Linked DNA regions of Homo sapiens: region 1 is linked to region 2. Evidence: promoter capture Hi-C in 16 types of primary human blood cells and fetal thymus (Javierre and others, 2016). All regions are on one chromosome and are shown on one strand. Each heading gives the region's core, a stretch centred on a gene start or on the middle of the fragment in contact. The rest is flanking DNA. Distances are from core to core; before and after follow the strand shown.

Region 1 (5,759 bases), core at 971-3,470, about 38 Mb after region 2:
AGTCATTGAGTCAACCCTGTTCTGACAATAATTCTCTTAAAGCAAATTATTAACTGTTAAAACTGTTTTCCCTGACCAGAAACAGACTGCATATTATAGAAATAACAAATTCAGGGAGTTTCAGTTTCACCTAACATACATGAATTTGAAACCTAAATTGGTTTATATGAGACAGTGAAAACAATCTTTGAGAACTTTATTGCATCTAAGATAGATTTTACTCCTCACAACAGGAAGTGGAACCCGTGAACTAGTCCGTTTCAAAATGATCTTGCATGTGGTTTTTCGCTAGGTAAGTAAAAAAAAAAAAAAAGCAAGCAACCAGTTGAGCATTTTATGAGATGGTTTTTCAATAGGGGAAATTATAACTTGCTATCATCATAAATATTCAGAGCCTAGTAAGATATTTTCTCATTCTATTTTCTTCCAGTTTGAATGTTATAGGTAAAACTAAAAAATTATTCTAAAAATCTGATTTTGCCCTAACTTACTTCTAAAGTTGAGGGGAAATTTTTCTTTGAAAATATGTATTTCTTTTTCATTGAAGAAGTGTATTTTTCTTTAACTTTTTAAAAGATGGTTCAAAAACTTCATTTGGCCACGAATCACTCAAAAACACATGGAAATATACAAAAGACCCAGTAGAAAATATACAAAGGAAACTCCTTTGATATTGAATGTTGGGGCTAACGCCCAGGTTACGGGTAACTGTTATATTGACTTATAATCCATATAGTAGTTGTTAAACCTTGCAGGCAAAATTTACCCCAAGATGTATTAAAATTCACAGTAAGATGCTCTGTCATTACATCAGACTTCATAGTGATCCTAATCTTTAGCAAAAACTATACAGTGATATGCTGGTAAAATGGGCTCTCTGGTTGCAGGAGCCCTAACTGGTGGCTTTTGTCAATTTCTGTGGTAGAAACCCTCACATCATTGACAGTTTCAAATTACCAATATTTTAACAACCAAGCCACAGAAATTCCTGACTATTTTAGAGCCATACCAGATCGGCACAGCACTGATAGAGCTGTTAGGGATGTTCTTCCAGAAACCCCTGACATCTCCACAAACGTTTTTTATCCTTCCCAGAAAAATAGACTCAACTTTTTAAAGGAGATTCTAAAGCATCCAATTAATAGACATTTACCTGTGAAAACATGAAAAGCTTGCTTAATTTTTTCAGAAGACTAACCACCTTAAATAATACTTAATACATTAATTGAAATAATCTGTCATAGTAGTGGATAATGAAGAAAGACAATAGACATTCTAACAATAATAACAGAAGCAGTAATAAAAACAATGACAGAGGTTGGATGTGATGACTCACGCCTATGTCAGTGATTTGGGAGGCCGGGGTGGGAGGATGTCTTGAGCCCAGGAGCTCAAAACTGGCCTGGACAACATAACAAGATCCCATCTCTTATTTTAAAAAACCACAATGACAGCTAAAACATATGAATAAAGCTTAATAATCATATCATGCTCGCATGTGCCAGGCGCTGCTCTGAGTCTTTTCAAGATTACTAGCATTGAACTCTCATAGCCACCTTTCTGGCTCAGGTGCTATTATTATATCCACTTTACAGAAGTGGAAATTAAAGCAAACGGAGCTTCAGAATTTTGCCCAAAGTCACCAAAGTAAATGGTAAAGTGAAAATAGGTATTTCAAGAATAAAACTCTGCATAGTAAACTGTTAGGATATTTGTTTGCATTGTTGCTGTTTTGTTAAGAAGTAGGGCAGGGAAGCAAGGACTAGAGATTGTGGCGAAGATGGATACCACGGCACTTTCCACCTAGAAGAGGAAAAGAAGAAATGAAAGGAGGACTGGGAAGAAGGGGAGGAAGGAAGGGAGAGGAGATAAGGAGCTGCAGGAAGGGTGCAAGAGAAGACGGAAGAAGGAGGAAGACAATGTAGAAAGTGGGGAAGAGCAAAGTTCCAGGGAAAATCGTGGAGTTTCTAGCTGAAACAATTGCAATAAATGACTTAGCACCATAGAGAACACAGTTAGAAATGTACATATTGTTTCAGCAGTAAAGATACTGAGTCTGATAAACATGTGAGACATCTAAGTGGAAATACTTGGTATACAGCAGTATATAAGGGATTAGATATTGGGAGGAAAATCTGGAATAAAGACATAAAATGTTGACTTGTCACTGTATAAAGAGTAGAAGTCTCATGTTTTGGTCAGATCACCCAGAGAATGTATAGAATGACAAACGCTCAACATCAGAATCCAAAGGAAAACCAACATGCCCCAGAAAAGCAATAGAAGCCCAGCAAGGGGACTGTGCCATTAACAGCCAAAGAAAAAGTAAAGAGAGGCAGGAGAGAAGGTTGTCGTGGAGCAGAGGGAGGAATACAAGAGAAAGGTAGGTCCAAACCTTCCAGTACTGTCAGTGTGAAAAAACAAAGGACGAGCTCCTCTTGGCCAGGCACGGTGGCTCTCACCTGTAATCCCAGCACTTTGGGAGGCCAGGGTGGGCGGATCACGAGATCAGGAGTTCAAGAACAGCCTGGCCATCACGGTGAAACTCCGTCTCTACTAAAAATACAAAAATTAGCTGGGCGTGGTGGTGGGCACCTGTAATCCCAGCTACTCGGGAGACTGAGGCAGGAGAACTGCTTGAACCCCAGAGACGGAGGCTGCAGTATGCCGAGATCATGCCATTGCACTCTAGCTGGGGTGACAGAGCAAGACTCCATCTCGAAAAACAAAAAAAAAGAAAAGAAAAAACGAAGGATGGATTCACTAGAGATTTGGCAAAACCAGTTTAACTATTGTGTGGGGCTACAAGACCAATCCGAGTGGGTTGAGAGATGAGTGGGAATTGAAGAAATAAAGACAGCATTGCAGACTACTCCTTCAAGAATCTTCACTGAAAAGAGGCGTCATGATAGTAACAGGAAGGCACACTGCCAAAGGACAGAGATTGCCACAGACCTCCCTCAAAACCAAGCTTCTGTGCTTAAACCCTTTTATTGCAGTAAGATACAGATACACACTTAGAAAGCACTTCAACAATACAGTATCAAAGGCTTCAATTATATTCATATTCTAACTCATTGATCATCCATTTCTTTCTGCCTTTTTTCTTTTTGAGATTATTTTTAAGAGAATTAAGTATACTGTTATCTCTCTGTGTACTCCTTCCCTTTTTCATTTCCCTCTCATTCTCCTCACATTACACTAACTTGAATGTGATGTTGATCATTTCCTTGCTTTTTTTGTTGTTGTTGTTGTTTTCTCCTTGTAGAGACAGGGTCTCGCTCTGTTTCCCAGGCTGGTCTCGAAATCATAGGCCCAAGAGATTTATCTTCCTCAGCCTCCCAAAGTGCTGGGATTACAGGCACGAGCCACCACATCCGACCTCCTTTGCACTTTTACTATCTATAAATAATATTTTAACAAAACTAGAAGTAATAACATTAATGCAGACATTTAATTTTCACTATTATGTTTTTGTAATGTTTTCACGTTGATACATGTATCTCTAGTTCATTTTCAATGCTGCATAGTACTGCAGTGAAGAAAAATGCCACAATGTATCTCTACCTATTGATGCACATTGAAATTATTTACAATGTTATGCTATCACAAAAATGTTGCAATTAACAATTTTGTATAACTTCCATTATTCATATATGCAGGTGTCTTTCTGGGCTACCTATGTGTCTGGAAGTGGAATTCCATGATCATAGGATATGTGCATCTTTAATTTTTTAGATATTCCCACGTTTCTTCCAAAGTGTCCTACTTACAGACCCTCCTGCAATATATAAAATTTAGCTTTCTACAACCAGGAATATGTTTTAGTCTCCTATCTCAGAGTTTCAGAAATCTTTCCTACATCTCCTTCTACCTGTTTATTTTTTCTCTTTCATTAATGTCTGCTCTTAACTTATTACCCTTTCTTTAAATTTTTAAAAAAATTACTGTTATTTTTTTTCCAGCTCCTAGAGGTGATGTATATCTTATTTATATTCTTTGCTTTTATTATAATAAAACATTCAGAGCTATACATTTACTGGGAATTTTGCTTTACTTGTATCGCCTTGTTTTTCCATTCTAAATCATTTCTTTAGAATAAGACATTGGAATATGTATTTATAGGTTTCTTAGCATATGGGAAATTTTTACTACTTTTTTTAATTTCTAAATTCATTGCATTTTGTTCAGAACATATGATCTTTATGATACCAATTTCTTGAAATTATTAGCATTTATTTGTGACATTACATAATCAAATTTTGTAAACATTCTATATTAGTCCATTCTCACACTGCTATAAACATACTAACTGAGACTGGGTAATTTATAAACAAAAGAGGTTTAATTGACTCACAGTTCTGCATGGCTGAAGGGGCCTCAGAAAAGTTACGATCATGGTGGAAGGAGAAGGGGTAGAGAGAGACACGTCTTACATGGCAGCAGGAGAAAGAGAGAAGCAGGAAGCACCAGATACTAATCAAACAACCAGATCTTGTGAAAACTCACTCAATATCATGAGAACAGCATGGTGGAAACTGCTCCCATGATCCAATCACCTCCCACCAGGTCCCTCCCTCAACATGCAGAGATTACAATTTGGATTACAATTCCAGATGAGGTGGGGACAGAGTCAAATCATATCACATTCTATGTAAACCTAAATCAAAACTGCTAATTTTGTTTTCCAAATCTTTTATATCTCTCTTTAATTTTTGTTGCTGGAATTACAACTTTGTTAGCATTTCCATCCTTTTATTTTCAAACTTTCTGTGTGGTTGGTTGGTTGGTTTTTGCCATTTCTTTTATAAGGACCATATGACTACATTTTGATTTTTTTTAATATAACATGATTATCTGTGCCTTTTCATAGGTGAGTTTAATCTACTTACATTTAACAACATTTTTATTTTGCGGTTTTGGTTTCATTCACTTCATTTACTTTTATTTTTCCCTTTTTTCTTTCTCACATGCAATTTCTCTGATGTTTAATTTAGTATTTCTAAATTCACCATAAATATAGCATAACTTAGCATATTGTAACTCCTGTTTGAATGACTACTCTCTTGTTATTGCAGTCTACATATTTATTTTTCCATTAAAAATGTTGTGTATTATTATTCTTAATCATAAATTTATTATGATTTAAGTTATTATTTCTCAATCAGAAATCACAAGTTTTCCTATTTCTGGGATCATCTTTCTTTCATTTATCATATAGCTTCCCACTGGATCCACTTTTCTGTTTAGGAGGGTGCCTCTTTGAATAGTCCCTTTTAATGAGGATCCATAGGCAGTAAATTCTCAGTCTCTGTGTGTATTGTAATGCCTTTATTTTCACCTCAAAACTGAATGATAATTGAGGTGGGTATAAAAGTATTTTCACCCCTGGCACTTTGACTATTTTGATCATTGGTCTTCTAACAACTATCACACTGATCGATTTCTGCTATCAGTCTGTCATTCATTGTACTTGATTTTTCTTTTCACTCTCTTAAGGCATTCTCATCATCCTTGATATACTGTAACTTTACTGCAATGTTTCTAGTTATGGACTTATCTTTATTTATACTGCTCAATCCTCTGAGTGAAGCTTTAATTGATAACTTGCATCTTTTCTCAAGCATGGAAAATTTTAAAAGGTCTTCAAATCATGCTTTTCTGCCATTTTCCTCATTCTCTTCTTTTGGGAGTACTGTTAGATTTGTGTTAGAGATGAGTGATTTTTCTTTCATATCTTAGCTCTTTTTTAATCTCTT
Region 2 (6,250 bases), core at 1,215-3,714:
TGCAGGTGGGCTAACTAAAAGCAGGGCATCCTATGTAATTATTTAGGGGTGGGTAGATATTTGGCTCTCTCTAGCTGGCCTTGAGTTGGAAGCCCTGACAAAACTTACAGAAGCTGTAAGTTATTAATCACGTCCTGGCCATTTGGGGTAGATTGCTACAAGGGTTATTGCTTGGCTTCCTGGACTGGTTGCTAAATATAGTAATCTGATTTCTTGGACTGGTTACTGGACATAGTAGGTTGCCTTCCTGGACTGGTTGTTGAAGGTTGTAGGTTAGTGTTCTATTTGTATATATTCTCTGGCCATTGTCTATTTGAATTCAGTCTCCCAGGACGGAGGAGTAGGGAGGAAATAAGAAAGGGATAGGGTGGCCAGGTGATTAAGGCAAATAAACTCCTATCAGTACTCCAATAGTCCTGTTGTCAGAGGCGTTTGAACCAGAGTGACTCCAACTTGAACAGGTGCTGGGTAAAACGAGGCTGAGACCTACTGAGCTGCATTCCCAGGAGGTTAGGCATTCTTAGTCACAGAAGATTGGAGGTCCACGCAAGATACAGGTCACAAAGACCCTGCTGATAAACAGGATGTCGTAAAGAAGACAGGCCAAACCCACCAAAACCAAGATGAAGACAAAAGTGACCTCTGGTCATCCTCACTTCTCATTATACGTGAATTATAATGCATTAGCATGCTAAAAGACACTCCCACCAGCACCATGACAGTTTACAAATGCCATGGCAACATCCAGAAGTCATACAGTCTAAAAGAGGGTAGAACCCTAAGTTCCAAAAATTGCCTGCCCCCTTCCTTGAAAACTCATGAATAATCCACCCCTTGTTTAACATATAATTAAGAAATAACTGGCTGGGCGCGGTGGCTCACGCCTGTAATCCCAGCACTTTGGGAGGCCGAGCCAGGAGGATCACCAGGTCAGTAGATTGAGACCATCCTGGCTAACACGGTGAAACCCTGTCTCTACTAAAAATACAATAAATTTCCAGCTACTCGGGAGGCTGAGGCAGGAGAATGGCGTGAACCCGGGAGGCGGAGCTTGCAGTGAGCCGAGATGGCGCCACTGCACTCCAGCCTGGGCGACAGAGCAAGACTCCGTGTCAAAACAAACAAACAACACACAAAAAAACTATATACTCAGTCCAGCAGCCCAAGCCACTGCTCTGCCTATGGAGTAGCCATTCTTTTGTTTCTTTACTTCTTTAATAAACTTGCTTTCACTTCACTATATGGACTCATGATTGGCAACGCTTTCTGGTAACACTGCCCAGGTTTCCTTTGTCAAGCGTGCCTTTCTCAGCCCTACATACCCACAGTTAAATAATCCCTTCTCTCCTGTTTATTTTTCAACTATTGAAAATAGCAAACATCTTAAAACAATTTGTCTTCATGTTTTTCCTCTTAAAAAATTGCAAACGTCTTCTGGGCAGGATTTATGTATTGTTTATCTTATTTATTCTCTTCCTATTGCATCTGGAACACAGTCTGTTTTCAATACCGTTTGTTGAACTCCAGGGTAGATTACAGGGCTGTGTATTATAATCTACAGTACTTTAACTGAAGTTACTCGTTTATTGGTGACTACATTGCTGTCAAAAATACACTCATGTGGCTGGGTGTGGTGGCTCATGCCTGTAATCCCAACACTTTGGGAGGCTGAGGCGGGCGGATCAGGAGGTCAAGAGATCAAGACCATCCTGGCCAACACGGTGAAACCTGGTCTCTACTAAAAATACAAAAATTAGCTGGGCGTGGTGGCGCATGCCTGTAGTCCCAGCTACTTGGGAGGCTGAGGCAGGAGAATCGCTTGAACCTGGGAGGCGGAGGTTGCAGTGAGCCGAGATCGCATCACTGCACTCCAGCCTGGTGACAGCGCCAGACTCCGTCTCAAAAAAAACCCCCCAAAAACAGAAAAACAAAAACAAAAAACCGCAGATGTTATAGAATATAAAATTATAAATGACAAAAAGCTTGAAATAAAACGAGCAGAGCATATAAAAGTTAATGAAGCTGAAGAAAACGTGAGCTTCTCCGTACACTTAACAAGGCTGCGATTTTTACCAACTTTTTTGCACTGTTGTAGCCCCAATAATGTATCTAAAATGGTACTTGACACAGTTTATATCCTTAAGAATGTATGCATGCACGCACGCGTGAAGAATGAATGAATGAGGGGTCGTCCCTTTGCACACACGGAGGTCTACGGGCCGCAGAGTACCTACAGCATGGCCACCGCAAGCGCAACTAAAATCCAGGGCTTGTCGCAGGCACAGGCTCCTCCTTCGGTGGGTGGGACGGCGGCGCGCACTTTCTCTACGCCCCACTGCTAGGATGTGCGGCCACCACTCCTCCTCCGCCGCCGCCGCCGCCGCCGCCGCCGCCGCCGCGTCGAGTGCAAGGGCTTCTGGGAGCCGAGCCTCGGGGTCTCGGAGAAGGGGCGCAGGTGGCCGCCATCTTGGATTGCGAACTGGGTCGCTACGCTTCACGCCAGGGGCGGAGTGGCGGCCCTTCTGTTACCCGCCACACACGTCGCCGCTGGGGACTGGGAAATCAGGGCATCGGAGAGTGCCACATTAATGGGTAAGTTGGAGTGAACACGGGCTAGGTTGGGGGAGCCTCGGTTTTGGTCCCTTTGGGAACTACTAGTTCCTGGGGCCACGGTTTTTATTTACCCCTTACTTTGCGAAGGTCTCTGGAACCTGGCGGTGCCGGGTGTTTCTCGTGTTTTCCCCAGGGCGACAGCGGTCGCGGGGGCGTGGCAGCCGGACCTTTCCCTTGCGGACGCGAAGGCGTGGTGAGTTCAGATTCTTTCAGCAGGTCCTCTGGAGTGATGGGCAGCTGGTCTCATCTTCGCCGCCCCGCCTCACCGTTTCTCGGTAGTTCTTTTCAGTTAATGGAATTGCCAAACGTTGCCACTCATACCTGGTACCCATCAGCTGTGTCCAGCAGCTTATGGAAATTCCACAGTGTCCAAAGAAGAGACAGGTTCCATCCCGAGGGCCTCCTAGCCTCGCCCTCTCCATCCGCCAGCCTCCCTCCTCCACCTGCGTGCAGGTGCCTCTAGTGCTCATTCCCGACGACAAGGCAAGCCTGGGTTCCACGCTTCTAATAGTCGGGCAGCTCCGTTCTAAGATGAAAACTTAGGTTTTCATCGATAATACATAGGAGATGGAAGTATTTGAAAGCTGTGAAATGACAGTGATATGTCTAAAGAATATGACATTGGCGGCGGGCGCGGTGGCTCACGCCTGTAATCCCAGCACTTTGGGAGGCGGAGGCGGGCGGATCACGAGGTCAGGAGATCGAGACCATCCTGGCTAACACGGTGAAACCTCGTCTCTACCAAAAATACAAAAAATACAAAATAAAATACAAAATAATAAATACAAAAAAAATACCAAAAATACAAAAAAAGGAAAAATTAGCCTGGCATGGTGGTGGGCGCCTGTAGTCCCAGCGACTCGGGAGGCTGAAGCAGGAGAACGGTGTGAACCCGGGCGGCGGAGCTTGCAGTGAGCCGAGAGCGCCATTGCACTCCAGCCCGGGCGACAGAGCGAGACTCTGTCTCAAAAAACAAACAAAAGAATATGACACTGGCATTTACTTTTGAGCTTTTTAGACATGTTTTTTAAAAAAGACAAAAACACTAATGATTTATCTCTCAATTACAACACCCAATAATGATGACTCATATTCTGTACAAAAGTGGTTTTCTTGGTAGGTCAGGAGCAACTCTCTCCCTCCGACCTAAGTACTGCTTGTTTGGTTGTGAGGGCTCTCTAGTTGGCACTTCCCCCGCTTTGTGCAGTCTTTTACTTTCACTAATGAGGCGCCCAGCCCCATGGAAATGAAGGCTTTACTGGCATAAGAAATAATGTCGATTGATATTAAAGAAAATCATAAGTTCAGATTCCAGTTATTTGCCCAACTTAAACATGGTTTTTCTAAGAGCCGTTGAAAGCTTATGAATGAAAAAAATTCCTCTATTCTGTAACTTTAAAGTGCTGGAATAACATTTCTAAATAAAAATATTTAATTTTTATGAGACCTCAGCCTTTGAAGTGCAGCCTTTAAATTTATTTTTCAGTGAACGAAACAATCCCATTGGATGGGGCCCCTTTAGAGATAATTTCCCTTGGTTTATTGTCCCCTTTAAAGCAACTGCAGTGAGGATGGATGCAGTGTTAAATCTGAAGCCGGAAGTCAGTACTATTGAAGAAAAAGGAACAAGTGATATCTGAGTTGTTGGTGCTGTATTTTATTTGGCTAAAATTTATGCTGAACAGTTACAATGTGGTTGCTTGGATTAATGGTCTCATAAGTAGCGCCTTTGTATGTGTGCGTGGTGGGGCACAAGGTGATCCAGTCAGATGTGGTAAGAAAATATTAGAACTTCTATTTGTTTACCTTTTAAAACTTTCATTCTTAAAAATTTCTGTTTTTTGTGAATTTTATGCTAGAGTAGTATATTAGAATAGTAATGCATGTATAGAAATAAATATATTGAGGATGAATGCACAAATGTATTTTACGAATGTAGGATGTGTGATTGAAAACGTTTAGAGCCAGTGGCCTAGAATATGCTACATATATAGGTGATAAATACTTTAAGAGTTTTATTTCCATGAGCATTTTATTTTACTTAAATATTTTATATATATTGAGCGTAATTCAACAACTAATACTGTGGTCAGTTTGCACTGTAATGAACTCTGATCTCTAATTTTTTCCTTTCAAGAGTCTAGCTTTTTATAGATATAAAATAGAGAATAATACCAAACATTGTTATTAGTAAAGTTATGTTGAGCGGTTTCCCTCTTTTATTTATTATTTTTTTTTGAGATGGAGTCTCACTCTGTGGCCCAGGCTGGAGTGCAGTGGCATGATCTTGGCTCACTGCAAGTTCCGCCTCCCGGGGTTCATGCCAGGAGTCTCCCTCCCGGGGTCTCCTGCCTCAGCCTCCTGAGTAGCTGGGACTACAGGTGCCCACCACCACGCCCGGCTAATTTTTTGTATTTTTAATAGAGATGGGGTTTCACTGTGTTAGCCAAAATGGTCTCGATCTCCTGACCTTGTGATCCACCTGCCTCGGCCTCCCAAAGTGCTGGGATTACAGGCGTGAGCCACCGTGCCCGGCCTTTTTTTTTTTTTTTTTTTTTTTTTTTTTTTTTTGACAGAGTCTTGCTCTGTCTCCCAGGCTGGAGTCCAGGCTGGAGCGATCTTGGCTCACTGCAACCTCTGCCTCCCGAGTTCAAGCAATTCTCCTGCCTCAGCCTCCAGAGTAGCTGGGATTACAGGCTTCTACCAGCATGCCCAGCTGATTTTTGTATTTTCAGTAGAGACAGGGTTTCACTATATTGGCCAGGCCGGTCTTGAACTCCTGACCTCAAGCGATCGACTCTCCTTGGCCTTCTAAAGTGCTAGGTTTACAGGTGTGAGCTACCCCGCCCGGCCATATTGAGCAGTTTCTAATGATATCTATTTGTAGGTGCACATAGTATTGCTGAATCTATTAAATATTTTAAAGGAGGAATTTTGGTAAATTAATCATGCATTTCTTTTCAATCATTCTCAAGTCCTCAGCCCCTTCCCTTCTACCTTGAGCTCCACCAGTAGTGAGATTTGTCTCACTATCTTTACCAGTGACATAATTACCAAATCTGATGCCTGATATGGTACTTGGATTATTACAGGCACTTTTATTTTCTGGATGAATCAATGAATGAATAAACCGAGTGGCCTGTTTTCAGTGGTACTACAACTTAAATATTCCTTTATCTTTTGAACTCCTTTCCTTTGCAGGACTCTTAATTTCTTCCTTATTCTTCTACTTCTCTGACCTACTTCTTTTTGGTTTCTTTTGCTCTTGCCTTTTTCTGCTAAAATATGATGGTCCCCAAGATTTCTCCTTTGGTCATCCTTCTTCTGTAGCTCTACATGATAGCAAATGATCACTCCAGATCCCTGTCCTGAGTTCTGATCCGTATTTTCAACCATCTACAGATCAAAGCCTCCTACATGTGCACCAAGTACTACACATTTACCATGTTTAAAACCAGAGTCACTATACACTTATTAGAATGGCTATGACTAGCAACAGCAACGACAAAACCCCTTAAATCATCAAATGGAGACAGGATGCAAAGCAACTGGAACTCTCATACATTACTGATGGGAATGCAAGATGGAATACTCACTTTGGAAAGAAGTTTGGCAGTTTCTTATAAAGTGAAACATA

The links. The method cuts DNA at HindIII sites, captures the fragments that hold promoters and counts their contacts. A CHiCAGO score of 5 or more calls a contact.
Region 1: a fragment that was not itself captured here is called in contact with the fragment with the promoter of KPNA5 in region 2 in 1 of 17 cell types (non-activated CD4 T cells); the score reaches 5.5 in non-activated CD4 T cells.

What each region holds. Positions count from the first base shown.
Region 1 is chr6:154,249,955-154,255,713 of GRCh38, forward strand. All of the region lies in intron 3 of IPCEF1 (interaction protein for cytohesin exchange factors 1), which reads right to left. Among named protein-coding and RNA genes, the nearest start is that of IPCEF1, 100 kb to the right of the region's middle. The HindIII fragment of the contact is 1,498 bases long and covers 1,472-2,969 here.
Region 2 is chr6:116,678,747-116,684,996 of GRCh38, forward strand. KPNA5 (karyopherin subunit alpha 5) reads left to right here and starts at 2,465. Exons shown (of 14, transcript NM_001366306.2): 1 at 2,465-2,592. The coding sequence starts at 2,589. RefSeq lists enhancers at 2,062-3,045, 3,046-4,027. The HindIII fragment of the contact is 1,991 bases long and covers 1,981-3,971 here.